5 separate regions of the Homo sapiens genome follow, and regions 2, 3, 4 and 5 are each linked to region 1. Evidence: promoter capture Hi-C in 16 types of primary human blood cells and fetal thymus (Javierre and others, 2016). All regions are on one chromosome and are shown on one strand. The core of a region is centred on a gene start or on the middle of the fragment in contact, and the rest is flanking DNA. Distances in the headings are between cores, read along the strand shown.

Evidence for each region. Contacts are between HindIII fragments. The CHiCAGO score rates a contact against its expected background, and 5 or more counts as called.
Region 2: a contact is called between a fragment that was not itself captured here and the fragment with the promoter of SNX12 in region 1, in 3 of 17 cell types (neutrophils, naive B cells and total B cells). The highest score is 8.2, in neutrophils.
Region 3: a fragment that was not itself captured here is called in contact with the fragment with the promoter of SNX12 in region 1 in 1 of 17 cell types (fetal thymus); the score reaches 5.9 in fetal thymus.
Region 4: a fragment that was not itself captured here is called in contact with the fragment with the promoter of SNX12 in region 1 in 2 of 17 cell types (non-activated CD4 T cells and naive B cells); the score reaches 5.4 in non-activated CD4 T cells.
Region 5: a fragment that was not itself captured here is called in contact with the fragment with the promoter of SNX12 in region 1 in 1 of 17 cell types (non-activated CD4 T cells); the score reaches 5.3 in non-activated CD4 T cells.

The regions. Positions count from the first base shown.
Region 1 is chrX:71,067,006-71,069,794 of GRCh38, reverse strand. SNX12 (sorting nexin 12) reads left to right here and starts at 1,461. Exons shown (of 4, transcript NM_013346.4): 1 at 1,461-1,653. The coding sequence starts at 1,489. RefSeq lists silencers at 1,246-1,465, 1,305-1,498. The HindIII fragment of the contact is 9,631 bases long and covers 1-2,789 here.
Region 2 is chrX:71,546,961-71,549,749 of GRCh38, reverse strand. OGT (O-linked N-acetylglucosamine (GlcNAc) transferase) reads right to left here. Exons shown (of 22, transcript NM_181672.3): 5 at 1,727-1,843. Among named protein-coding and RNA genes, the nearest start is that of OGT, 15 kb to the right of the region's middle. The HindIII fragment of the contact is 3,213 bases long and covers 1-2,789 here.
Region 3 is chrX:71,527,156-71,529,944 of GRCh38, reverse strand. It overlaps a transcript of TAF1 not described here and the pseudogene SOCS6P1. Among named protein-coding and RNA genes, the nearest start is that of OGT, 4.6 kb to the left of the region's middle. The HindIII fragment of the contact is 656 bases long and covers 1,138-1,793 here.
Region 4 is chrX:71,390,765-71,393,553 of GRCh38, reverse strand. It overlaps TAF1 (TATA-box binding protein associated factor 1), which reads right to left. Exons shown (of 38, transcript NM_004606.5): 19 at 836-985; 20 at 560-679; 21 at 78-253. Among named protein-coding and RNA genes, the nearest start is that of TAF1, 26 kb to the right of the region's middle. The HindIII fragment of the contact is 3,497 bases long and covers 1-2,789 here.
Region 5 is chrX:71,337,838-71,340,626 of GRCh38, reverse strand. No RefSeq gene overlaps it. Among named protein-coding and RNA genes, the nearest start is that of TAF1, 27 kb to the left of the region's middle. The HindIII fragment of the contact is 9,485 bases long and covers 1-2,789 here.

The DNA.
Region 1 (2,789 bases), core at 212-2,711:
TAATTTTTGTATTTTTAATAGAGACAGGGTTTCACCATGTTGGCCAGGCTGATCTCGAACTCTTGACCTCAAGTGATCTGCCTGCCTCGGCCTCCCAAAGTGCTGGGATTACAGGTGTGAGCCACCGCGCCCGGCCTGCATATGCTGTTTCTTATTCCAGAAATTACCTTTCCCTATTTCCACTCCTATTTGTCCTTTATGTCTTTTCATGTCTGTTAAACTCAGATGTTTCCTCCTCCAGGGGAACCTCCCCTAATTTTTCCAGTTATACATTTCCTATGTGCTGCTTTGAACATTTACTTATTTTGTATTTGTCGCATTATATTAGTTTTGTTTACTTGTCTCCCTTGCTAGAATGTTAACTCCTTGAGGGCAGGGACTCTTATTTAACTCCAGGATTTTAGTGTTTAGCATGGTGCTTGGCACGTATTTGCTTAGTGGATATTGGTTAAATTGAATTAAACAGCAATTGTGAAATTGTAGGGCCTCATACTCTGTTGAAAGAATTTCAGGCATCAGTGATATGGGAAATATTTTTTGAGTAGAGGAGGGCAGGGGAAAGGTGGAGAAAGGATGACCTGAAATCATCACCCAGTCTACCCTTTAATGTGGAGCATATGTAAATTAGTCATATAAATATTAATATTTCTATAGATATTCTCATGTAAACATTTATTCTATCTCCATTATGGGTTGCAAGCAACCTCAGAGCAGTGCCAAGTATGGAGTTCTGCGGAGTAGAAATAGAAGGTATGAAATAAGTACCCTCAATTTGCTGATAAATGTAAGATTGAGTACACCTGGAGTGTGGCAACAAGGAGTAAGATATGCCCAATTTTCCTGAAAAGTAAGAGAGAAATGTCTTTCTTTACCCCATCCTAGTTGCTTGCTGCTTTCCTGGCGCCATACGTAGTGCTGAGTGCGCCATTGTGTGTGGCGTGAACTGAAACCATCAGTGGCACAGGTGGGACGGCTACGTTATAGGTTCTCAGTACTATTGTTGGAACCCCACCCTCCATAGACCACCCTTCTATTTTCGCGGAAAACCAGGACTTATTCAGGTCACTGGGCTTCGGCCTATCACTGTAGGAGCCTGGCTCACGGGGCAGTGCCCACTGTTGATTGATACACGGTACGAGACAATTTCTTGGGTTGAGGAGCCGCGATTGGCGGAGCCAGCCTGTGCTGCTAGGCAGGGTATTGGGTACTGCGTATTGGGGATGCAGGTTCCCGGGTGGCCACAAACATCACCCGGAAGCCTGAATATGGCCTCCACTCTACAGGGCGCGCAGCAGTCAGCACGGCCGCTATTCAGAGCCCGGGGCCCAGGCCCGTGCGGCGTGCGCGTGCGTGCGTGGGCGCGCGTGCGCGCCGCCGCCGCCTGTGGGTTGGCTAGTTATTTTGCAAGCGGGAGGGGCCGTGCGCGCTCCTGCCTCAGGCCTCTGTCCCCCACCCCCTTTCCCCGGTCCCAGGCTCTCCTTCGGAAAGATGTCGGACACGGCAGTAGCTGATACCCGGCGCCTTAACTCGAAGCCGCAGGACCTGACCGACGCTTACGGGCCGCCAAGTAACTTCCTGGAGATCGACATCTTTAATCCTCAGACGGTGGGCGTGGGACGCGCGCGCTTCACCACCTATGAGGTTCGCATGCGGGTGAGTCACGGGGTGAGGGAGACAGCTGAGGGAGGACCGGGCGGCGCGAGCGGGAGGGGGGAGGGAGGCTACCGCGGGGGCAACTAACGGCGGGGAAGACGCCTTAGGGGTCATTTGGGGGTTAGGGGTATAATAGGCTTGGAACGAGGTCTGCCGATTCAGTTGTGGCCGGAGGATGCAGAAAACTCCTGAGGGAGACATCGGACGGGGATGCAGGAAAGCTACCCATGAGGAAGTGAAGCATGGCTGGATAGGGTGGGGTGGATGGAAAAAGATTAGAGTGAGGAATTCAAGGAGATAGGAATCACGGCTGTAGCGACTGAAGGAAGGGAGGGAGGATGGAAGAGGGCTGGGGGATGGAAAGCCAAGGCGATATATCGCTGAGCTCCATAACTAAACTAGGTTGTGAGAAGTCTGAAGAGGGAGGGCAGGAAGGCCGGCTGCTTTCTAATGAGGTCTCCCTGGGATAATGGAGTAAAGCAAAGCCTTGAATTAAAGGGAAGGTAGATTCCAGAAAAGGCAGACAGTAGGCTTGTGGGAGCAGAAATAAGAAAGGGAGTCTCCTTGAGACCGAGCGCTTTCCTAACTTGTGTCGGATCAGCATCTGAAGGAGAGAAATGTTTTATGCTTAAGTTTTCGCAGATACTACGTGCTGTCTCGCCTTGAAACCTGGCCTGGCCCTGGGATTGGTGCCTTGTCAGTCACTGCTTTCATTCTATGTGGATCCTTTAGATTTGAAGTATCCAGAATGTTTATTTCAGTATTTATTGACTCTCGTTTAGGTACTTTGTATATGAATGGCTTTTTGCCCTTTCTGTCCTAGATTACCCTTTTGGATTCTGACCCTGGTCTGTAGTTACTTTAATACATGACATTTCAGAATTGCCCAGGAGTGGCTTCTTCCAGCATGCATGATAGAGGACTTTACTCTCTAGTGCTTAGCCCATAATGCAAGGATGGAATGTGCAGATAGAGTACTTGGTTTGCAGGATCTTTTGCCCACTTGAAGTGGTTATAGGCAAAACAGTTTGAGAATCATTTTCTAGTTTTCCTTATGTTTTCTTCTCAGACTAAAAGGCCAGAATATTCTCTGTGGACAGCATCCTGCTCAAACAGCATTGAAGAACTAAAAGAGT
Region 2 (2,789 bases), core at 202-2,701, 480 kb before region 1:
TCTCACACCATCACCCAGGCTGGAGTGCAGTTGCATGATCACAGCTCACTGCAGACTCAAACTCCCATCTCAGCCTCCCCAGTAGCTGTGTGTGTGTCACCACGCATAGCTACTTTTTGTATTTTTTGTAGAGACAGGGTCTTACTATGTTGCCCAGGCTGGTCTCAAACTACTAGGCTCAAGCAATCCTCCCACCTCAGCCTCGCAAAGTGCTGGATTACAGGTGTGAGCCACAGCACGCAGCCTAAAGTACATTTTCAACACAAAATTGGAAACTGCCATACCATGTACTATCCAGCAAATGCTGCAATAAAGATGTTTCTCAACTTAGGATGGGGTTATGTCCCGATACACCCATCATAAGTTGAAAATATCTTAAGTCAAAATGCATCTGTAACACTTAGTGAACATCCTAGCTTAGCCTAATTTTTTTTTTTTTTTTTTTTTTTTTTTTGAGACAGGGCCTCACTTTGTCACCCAGGCTGGAGTGCAGTGGTGCAATCTTGGTTCACTGCAACCTCCAGCTCCCAGGCCCAAGCAATCCTCCCACCTCAGCCCTACAAATGGCTGGGACTACAGGAGCACACTGCCACACCCAGCTCATTTTTGTAGAGACAGGGTCTCGTTATGTTGTCCAGGCTGGTTTTCAACTCCTAAGCTCAAGCAATCTGCCCGCCTCGGCCTCCCAAAGCACTGGGATCACAGATGTGAGCTATCACACCTGGCCCGGCTAGTCTCATTTTAAACATGCTCAGAACACATTAGCCTACGTTTAGGTAAAATTACCTAATACAAAGCCCTTTTTTAAAACTTTAATATGAGTTTTATTTTAATTCCAACATTTATTTTAGGTTTGGGGTACACATGCAGGTTTGTTAAATGGGTAAATTGTGTCACAGCAATTTGGTATACAAATGATTTTGTCACTCAGGTAGTGAACATAGTACCTGGTAAGTAGTTTTTGTACCCTCACACTCCTCCCACCCTCCACCCTCAAGTAAGCCCCACTGTCTATTGTTCCCCTTTGTGTCCATGTGTACCCAATGCTTAGCTCCCACTTGTGAGAACATGCAATATTTGGTTTTCTGTTCCTGCATTAATTCACTTAAGATAATAAACTCCAGCTGCATCCATGTTGCTGCAAAGGACATGATTTCATTTTTGATGGCTACATGGTATTCCATGGCATATATGTACATTTTCTTTAGCCCACCGTTGATGGGCATCTAGGTTGATTCCATGTCTTTGCTATTGTGAAGTGATGAACATACGCATGCATGTGTCTTTATGGTACCTTTTTATTTTTTAATCTTAGAGACAGGGTCTCACTCTGTCACTCAGGCTAAGTACAGTGGCATGGTCACAGCTCACTGCAGCCTCAAACTCCTGGGCTCAAGTGATCCTCCTGCCTCAGCCTCCTTCTTATTTTATAATAGTGTGTTGGGCATCTCATGTAATTTACTGAATCTTGTACTGAAAGGGAAAACCAGAATGGCTGCATGGGTACTCGAAGTATGATTTCTATTGAATATGTATGTCTTTTGCACCATTGTCAAGTTGAAAAAATATTTAAGTCAAATCATTGTTCTCTGTAAGTCACATACTGCCTATACCGCCAGAGAAACAAAGATATAATGTCACTGGCTAAGACCTATTATTTAGTTCTAGTAAAAACACTACATGCGTAAGCACTTCAAAAATACCAATTATTAATTTAATGACTAACCTTTTCAAAGTGATGAATTGCAAGCCAAATTTCCCCTTGTGCATTGAAAACACAGCCAAGATTACTCCAAGCTACTGCAAAGTTCGGTTGCGTCTCAATTGCTTTCAAATAACATGCCTTAGGAGGGGTTAATGAAAGAAGATGGGAGGGAAAGGAGGTAAAGGGAAAGGGGAAAATTTGTAAAGGGAAAAAAAAAAGATTGGGGGGAGGGGGGGAAGAAGGTGATATCATTATTCCTTCTCTGACCAGCCAAAAGTGACCCTGCAGCATAGGCTCGCTTGCGCCAAAACTAATGCGCTGCCACAGCTGGCTGCTCCTGCGCCTGCGCCACCAGAACCCAAGTGCAAACCACCATGTTCAGTTCTGCCAACCAAAGACCAACCCTTACACTGGGACTTAACTGGGAAGTCAGTTGCTATAAGGCTCTATGCTGGAGTTCTCTTATCCAAACAACTACGGGCCCTTGTCATGTTTTCAAGTGCTACCTAGAGGGCGCAACTTGAGGCCGAGTTTTCCTACCCCCACTGTTTCCCAAAGTGTGTTCTATGAGGTGTTAAGAGGTATGGCTGAAAAAAAAAGGAGTTCATGATCAAATAAATTCGGAAAATAGGTTTCTTTACTGGACTTCCCTAAGCCTTTAATAGTGTAACAGGGTTCCCTGAACTTAGTTGACCATGGAACTCTTCTTTCATTGGGCATTTTATTAGAATACTATGAAACACATTTTGGGAAATGCTGCTCTTCAACAATGTTCCTCACTAACATCAAAACTATGCTACTGAGGAGAAAAATGTCTTTCTGCCAAGTAGGATATCATAAAGCCAGGCTTTAAGTTACATTCTCACAATGCCCCGTCTCCCAAGGAGGACTGAAGCTGAAACCTCACATGACAGGATTGCACCTAGGTTGAGGTCCCTGTAATGCGAGCGCAAACATCGCTTGCGCAACCTAACAGCATCGCACTGCGCAATCGCTGCGAACTGCTGCGCTACATAGAACACCCCTAGACGCAGCAAACGGCCAACCAGATCCATTAATCTACTAGACAGGCCCATGGAGAATA
Region 3 (2,789 bases), core at 216-2,715, 460 kb before region 1:
AGTTCTGCCAGATGAGGATACTTTTTCTCTCAGCACCAACAGTCTTTAAAGATGTGAGAGCTCAAAGACCAATAAGGTCCACTTCCCTCCACAATCCTCACTGTAGTCCTCTCCTTGGCTTACAAACTAAGGAGACACGTATCAAAACGGAGATGAGACGAAGAGACTCAAAGCCTTGGTTCATTCTTCCAATCCAAGTCTGGCACGGATTTTCACTATCTTCAGCCTGAAGCTGCATACAAAGAACAAAGTAAAGAGTTCAAAATTTCAGAATGGAGACTTGCATCTTCACTTCAAGGAACATGTGCCTGTACTTATTGGACTTATGCCTCAAGACTATATTCAGTATTCTATGCCTTTAGATGAGAGGCTTTATCCTTTGCAAGGGTGTCATGCTATTGTCTGGACAGTTCTCCCATGGAAGTGAGTGGTGAAGCCAGCTGGACTTCTGGGTTGGGTGGGGACTTGGAGAACTTTTGTGTCTTACAAGAAGATTGTAAAACGCACCAATCAGCACTCTGTGTTTAGCTAAAGGATTGTAAATGCACCAATCAGCACTCTGTAAAAATGCACCAGCCAGGTGCAGTGGCTCACACCTGTAATCCCAGCACTTTGGGAGGCTGAAGCAGGCAGATCATGAGGTCAGGAGATGGAGACCATCCTGGCTAACATGGTGAAACCCCGTCTCTACTAAAAATACAAAAAATTAGTCAGGCGTGGTGGCGGGCACCTGTAGTCCCAGCTACTTGGGAGGCTGAGGCATGAGAATGGCATGAACCCAGGAGGCGGAGGTTGCAGTGAGCTGAGATTGCACCACTGCACTCCAGCCTGGGCGACAGAGCGAGACTCTGTCTCAAAAAAAAAAACAAAAACAAAACGCACCAATCAGCGCTCTGTTTCTAGCTAAAGGATTGTAAATGCACCAATCAGCACTCTGTAAAATGCACCAATTAGCGCTCTGTGTCTAGCTAAAGAATTGTAAAAACACCAAAGAGCACTCTGTAAAATGGACCAATCAGCACTCTGTAAAATGGACCAATCAGCAGGATGTGGGCGGGGACAAATAAAGGAATAAATGCTGGCCGCCCCCAGCCCCACTGGCAACCTGCTTGGGTACCCTTTCACGCTATGGAAGCTTTGTTCTTTTGCTCTTCACAATAAATCTTGCTGCCGCTCACTCTTTGGGTCTGTGCTACCTTTAAAGAGCTGTAACACTCACCGCGAAGGTCCACGGCTTCATTCTTGAAGTCAGCAAGACCAAGAACCCACTGGAAGGAACCAACTCCGGACACAGATGTTTCTGGGAATTCTATCCCCAAAGCTGAGAATCGGGTAGAGCAGGACCTGGTCGTTGCTCCAGAGATCTTTGTGGATCCATCTCTGAATGGCTTGTTCATTGGTACCTGTAAGGAGTTACAATGCAGAGCCCAAGAGCAAGCCATGAAGACATTCCTGAAGACACTTTCATCATTACTACCTCCAATACAGAATCTAAAGGAACTTCTGTGGACTCACAGGTGCAGTTGTCTATGTGTGTGTCTGAAAGTACCCACTGTCATTTGAATTCTAATCCTGACTGTCCTCCTGGGGTTGCAAGAGTTGATGATTCTGTCCAAAGTAGTGACACTATGGTTGTGACAAGCCTTACAGAGGAGCTGAAAAAACCTGCAAAATAATAATGGTGCTGGGGGCAATCATACACTGACAGGCAGAAGAAAAGTGAGCAAATGTGCTAGATGGTTTTTTTCTTGTCCCAGATAGCCATAATGACTGTTATCTTTCAAGCTCAAGCTTTTGCTCCCATGGTAAAACACTTCACACTAGAATTGAACACTCGAATGGTAGGTTTTGCTTTTATGAGCAACCAGATGTGAAAGGACAATTAGTTGATCTAATTGAACATTCAACCAGGGACTCTGGAAAATAGAGTTTTTTCTTATTGAAGGTCTCGGTTACCTGGATCTGCAATTTACCCTGTAAGACTGACCAATCCAATACTACAATTCATACAGTTTTGTTCTTTGCAGCACCCATGACATTTGTTTTATGTCAGCATACCAGAATAGACTTATTTCAAAAACTGCCTTTGCCAAACAAAATGAAGGCTTATTTACAGGAGAAGCATTGCTAAAGGATTATGAAAACCCTGCATCTTGCACTTTGGAATCAAGAAAAAGAGACTGAAATACAGTTTTACAAACTTTCGTTGCTATCAATTTTGATGCCATAACTGTTTCAGTTTTATGTGTAAAAGAGTAATCAATTTGTTGAGAGGTGGGGAAGTGTTGGCAAGGTGTCTTGAGTTTATTTTGGTCCTTTAAAAAGTAAAGTCTTGAGTTCTTAGAAGTGTGAATTATCTTTATCAATTTCCAAAATAATTACAATAGGAATTCTCAGATTCTCCTTAATCTGCCGCAACTCCTCCTCCACTGCTACTCCCACTCCTTTGCTGCTGTCCACTATGATTTTTATGTATTGAAAGCACATTTCATATGTATTCAATCCCAAGTAAAGTAAAGTTGAATGAAATTTTTCTTTTCTTTTTTTTTTTTTTTTTTGAGACGGAGTTTGGCTCCTGTTGCCCAGGTTGGAGTGCAGTGGCACGATCTCACCTTGCTGCAACCTCCGCCTCTCAGGTTCAAGCAATTCTCCTGCCTCAGACTCCCGAGTAGCTGGGATTACAGGCACGTGCCACCACACCCAGCTAATTTTTGTATTTTTAGTAGAGACGGGGTTTCGCTATGTTGGCCAAGCTGGTCTCAAAGTCCTAACCTCAGGTGATCTGCCTG
Region 4 (2,789 bases), core at 121-2,620, 320 kb before region 1:
CCTCTTTATTATGAAATAGTGCCTGGAACTCCTCCCCCTTTCCAGCTTGGATTTTCTGCAGCACTAAAACGACCCACTTGTTCTGTAGGTCAAAGATGCGCTGACATTCCTCTTTGTAACGCTCTTGATGCTCAGCCACAGAAAACCTTGATCCACGGGCAAATTTACTCATGGGCCCCTCTCCAGAACGAGCCTGTTCTGTTGACATTGTGCGCACCACATCAATCACTTCCCAGCGGGACAACTTTTTAATCTACGAGACAAATAGCCACACACAAATATAAATATACACACACACACACACACACACACACACACACACACACACAAATCATTCAGGGATTTCAAAGGACAAGCCAATGTACACAGTTAGACCAAAAAAGAAAAATCACCCCAAAGCAGATTACATAGAAAGATAACTCCTAAAACAATATCTAAGACTTAGCTTACTATACCCTACAATAAAGTTCCCCAGATAGTTCTTTACATCTGCCTCCTAGCAATTCCAACTCTATACAAAGCCCCTAGTATACTCTAAATTTTCCACTTCCACACTCACCTCTTCCTCAGGCACACCAAATTTACGTAGAAGTTGCTTGGCATTTTTCAGGGAAAGGCGACGAAGGTCTGCATCTGTTCCTGTCACTGTCTTCTTCACTGGCTGCGGTTCTTTATCATCCTACCTCAAACAAAAAAAAGTGAGACTCCTAAAAACCTGAATTCCTTTTAAGTAGGCATCTAAGTCATTCTGCTACCTTAACTACATTCCAAGTCCTCCACTCACCCATTTCTTTCTCCCTTGACTTTTTCATTCTAGAAATAAACACAATCTCACCTTCTGCTGTGTTGGTTTGTTTGGAATCTTCACATAGGAGAATCCTTCACCACACCCCGTGGGATCTGCCACCCCAGTCACCTCTAGCAGACACTTGCCCTTCATGGCAGCAATGAAGGCCCTTGTGGTGTTCCAAGGGGCAGTGCGAACCTGAGATAAAGAAAAAGATTCTCAGGGCAGTGGGAAACATTTGTTCTATGTCTAGCCAATATCTACAAGAGTAGAATAATTACAAACTATTTTCATGTTCTTTTTTTCTAATTTTTAATTTCTGTGGGTTCATGCTCTCTTAAACTGTCCACAAAAATCAACAGTTAAATATAGCTACCTAGTACTCAGTTCTCTTCTATCCTATGGTACAATACTTACAACATGATATTAAATAGAGGTCAAGAGCTCAGGCAGGATAAGGAGAAAAATAAAGAACAGTGGTATCCCTTCAGCCCCTTATCCCTTGGGCTTCAATAAACATTCTTAAGGACAGTGTTTCCCTCACCCTCATGATGCTCAAAATTAGACTAATGACTACATTTGATTGTCCAATTGCTCAAACAGCTGTTTTAGAATGAAACCTATTTTCTCGAAATACTTGACATGCTTGCTTTCAAAGCATTGGCCCCTTTTCCAGTGACACTAAACCAAAGTCCATTCTATTTCTGCCACTGGTTTGGTCAAAAAGGTCTGTCCTCTCCTGGGACCCTGAATAGTGTTTACCAACCCCTGCAAGATTCTTAAAGAATTAAGCCAAGGGGTGAATGTGCCTGCCCACACAGACCAGTCAGGAGTACATGAGGCCAGGTGTGGTGACTCACACCTGTAATCCCAACACTCTGGGAGGCTGAGGCGGGCAGATCTCTTGAGGCCAGGAGTTCAAGACCAGCCTGGCCAACATGGTGAAACCCCATCTCTACTAAAAGTACAAAAATTAGCCAGGCGTGGTGGCGCACACCTATAGTCCCAGCTACTCAGAAGGCTGAGGCACGAGAATGGCTTGAACCCAGCAGGCAGAGGTTGCAGTCAGCAGACTGCACCACTGCACTCCAGCCTGGGAGACAGAGTGAGACTCTGTCTCAAAAAAAAAAAAAAAAAGAGTATATATGATTAGCAAGAAAATGGCCATTCTCTAAGGTTCAATCTGGAAAGCCATTCAACAGAATTCTTTTTTTATTTTTAATTTAAAAAAAATTGTTTTTCTTTTTTAGAGACAGGGTCTCACTATGTTGGCCAGGTTGGTCTTGAACCCTTGGCCTCAAGTAACCCTCCCACCTTGGCCTCCCCAAATGCTATGATTACAGGCCTGAGCCACTGCGCCTGGCCTCAAAAGAATTCTTAATTTCTGAAATTCTTAGATATCCACTCATTTTTCATTCCAACCTCAAGAGAGTAGTACAACGATTCTTTACTCACTCTGTGTGGCCTCATTTTCTGCTTCATTTTATAATCACTTAATTCATTTAACAAATATTTATTGAATACCAACTACACACTACTCCTCCATACTACTTTTTCATGAACCTCAAGTTAGTGAGGGAAAAACAGCCAACCAAGTTCAGTACTATGTGATCAGTGCCACGGGAAGAAAGTAGAGGCCAGGCACAGTGGTTCATGCCTATCATCCCAACACTTTAGAAGGCCAAGGCAGGACGATCGTTTGAGCCTAGGAGTTCAAAATCAGCCTGGGCAACACAGTAAGATCCCATTTCTTTCTTTCTTTTTTTTTTTTGAGATGGAGATTCGTTCTTTTAGTCCAGGCTGGACTACAATGGCGTGGTCTCAGCTCCCGGCAACCTCCACCTCCCAGGTTCAAGTGATTCTCCTGCCTCAGCCTCCCAAGTAGCTGGGATTACAGGCGCACGCCACCACGCCCGGCTCATTTTGTATTTTTAGTAGAGTCAGGGTTTCACCATGTTGGCCAGGCTGGTCTCGAACTCCTGACCTCAGGTGATCTGCCCGC
Region 5 (2,789 bases), core at 114-2,613, 270 kb before region 1:
AATATACATATACAGGGCGGGCGTGGTGGCTCGTGCCTACAATCCCAGCACTTTGGGAGGCCAAGGCGGGTGGATCACGAGGTCAGGAGTTCAAGACCAGCCTGGCCAAGATGGTGAAACCCTGTCTCTACTAAAAATACAAAAAATTAGCTGGGCACGGTGGCAGGCGCCTGTAATCCCAGCTACTTGGGAGGCTGAGGCAGGAGAATCGCTTGAATTTGGAGGGCGGAGGTTGCAGTGAGCCGAGATCATGCCACTGCACTCCAGCCTGGGTGACAGAGTGAGACTCCATCTCAAAAAGAAAAAAAAAAAAGAAATATATATACATATATTTAATTATATCTAAAACTATATATACGTATATAGTTTCAAAAGAAGATAGGTATATGTATATAGGTATACAGTTTCAAAAGAAGGAAGGTGTATGTATATAGTTTTAGAGACAGGGTCTCACTCTGTCACCCAGGCTGGAGTGTGGTGGTGCAATCATAGCTCACTGCAGCCTCGAACTCCGTGGCTCAAAATGATCCTCCTGCCTCAGCCTCCTGAGTAGCTGGGACTACAGGCATATGCCACCATATCTAATTTTTTAATTTTTTTTTTTTTTTGAGATGGAGTTTTGCTCTTGTTACCCAGGCTGGAGTGCAATGGCACAATCTTGGCTCACTGCAACCTCCGCCTCCCAGGTTCAAGCAATTCTCCTACCTCAGCCTCCTGAGCAGCTGTGATTACAGGCACCTGCCACTACGCCCGGATAATTTTTGTGTGTGTGTGTATTTTTAGTAGAGACGGGGTTTTACCATGTTGGCCAGGCTGGTCGTGAACTCCTGACCTCAGGTGATCCACCTGCCTCAGCCTCCCAAAGTGCTGTGATTACAAGCATGAGCCACCATGCCCGGCCATAATTTTTAAATTTTTTGTAGGGATAGGGCCTTACTATGTTGGCCAGGCTGGTCTTGAATTCCTGACCTCAAGCAATCCTCCTGCATTGGCCTCCCAAAGTGTTGGGATTATAGGCATGAACCACCACACCTAGCCAGAAAAAATACTCGAAGAAATAATGGCCAAAAACTTCTCAAATCTGAGAAAAGACACGAATATACATGTTCAACAGTTAAACTCCAAGCAGGATAAACAAAGAGATCCACATCAAGACACATTACAGTCAAATTGTTGAAAGCCAAAGACAAAGGGATATTTTTTTTTTTTTTTTTAGAGACAGGTCTCACTATGATATTGCCCAGGCTGGTCTTAAACTGCTGGCCTCAATTGATTCTCCCACCTCAGCCTCCCAAAGTGCTGAGATTATTGAGTGTGAGCCACTAGACTGGAAATACCACTAAGAAAAAAACCTTAACATATAGAGAAGGAAAGAAGAAGGGAATCAAAATGGTACACCACCAAAAAAACAACTAAATTTTTAAAAGGCAGTAATGGAAGAACTGAGGAACGAAACCCATACAAGACATAAAGAAACAAATAGATGGCCGGGCACGGTGGCTCACACCTGTAATCCCAGCACTTTGGGAGGCTGAGGCGGGCGGATCACGAGGTCAGGAGATAGAGACCATCCTGACTAACATGGTGAAACCCCATCTCTACTAAAAATACAAAAAATTAGCCGGGCGTGGTGGCGGGTGCCTGTGGTCCCAGCTACTCGGGAGGCTGAGGCAGGAGAATGGCGTGAACCCAGGAGGTGGAGCTTGCAGTGAGCCGAGACCACACCACTGCACTCCAGCCTGGGTGACAGAGCGAGACTCCATCTCAAAAAAAAAAAAAGAAACAAATAGATAAATGGCAAAAGTAAATCCCTCTTTATCAGTATTCACATTATGTATACATGGATTAAACTCTCCTAGTAAAAGGCAGAAATTAGCAGGTTAGATTTTTAAAAAGATCCATCTATATACTGTCCATAAGAGTCTCATGTTAGATATAAGGACACAAAGAGATTGAAAGTAAAAAGATTGGGAAAGATACTGCATGCAAATAGTAATCAAAAGAGAGCTGTGGTGACTACATTATTGTCAGACAAAATAGGCTTTACACCAAAAAAGTTTAGACAAAGGACATTAAATATTGATAAAAGGTTTATACAGCAAGAAGATATAACAATTATAAACATGTATACACCTGTCTTAGTCCATTTTGAGTTGCTATAACAGAATACTCAAGACTGAGTAATTTATAAACAAAAAAGGTATTTAGCTCACAGTTTTGTAGGCTGGGAAGTTTAAGGGCATGGCCCTGGCTTCTGGCAAGGGGTTTCATGCTACATCATAACATGGCAGAGAAGGTCAAAGTGGAAACAGACACCTGTGAACAAACAAAAGTTGAGGGGCATCCTGATTTTATAACAATCCATTTTCATGGAAATTAATCCATTCCAGCAAGAACTAATCCAGTCTCACCAGAGCAGGAACTCACTCACTACCATAAGAATGATACTAAGCCATTCAAGAGGGATCTCCATCCCCCTCCATGAGCCAAACACTAGGCCCCACCTCCCAACATGGCCACACTGATGATCAAATTTCAACATGAGTGTTGGTGGGGACCAAATCATAGCAGCACCTAATAACAGAGTTCCAAAATATATAAGCCAAAAATTGACAGAAATGAAGGGGAAAAATACTTCTACAATAATAGTTGGAGACCTCAATACCCCACTTTCAATAATGGCCAATACAACCAGACAAAGGGTCAATGTAGAAATGGAAGATTTGAACAAAACTATAAACCAATTAGACCTAACAGACATATGCAGAACAATAGCAGAATACAAATTC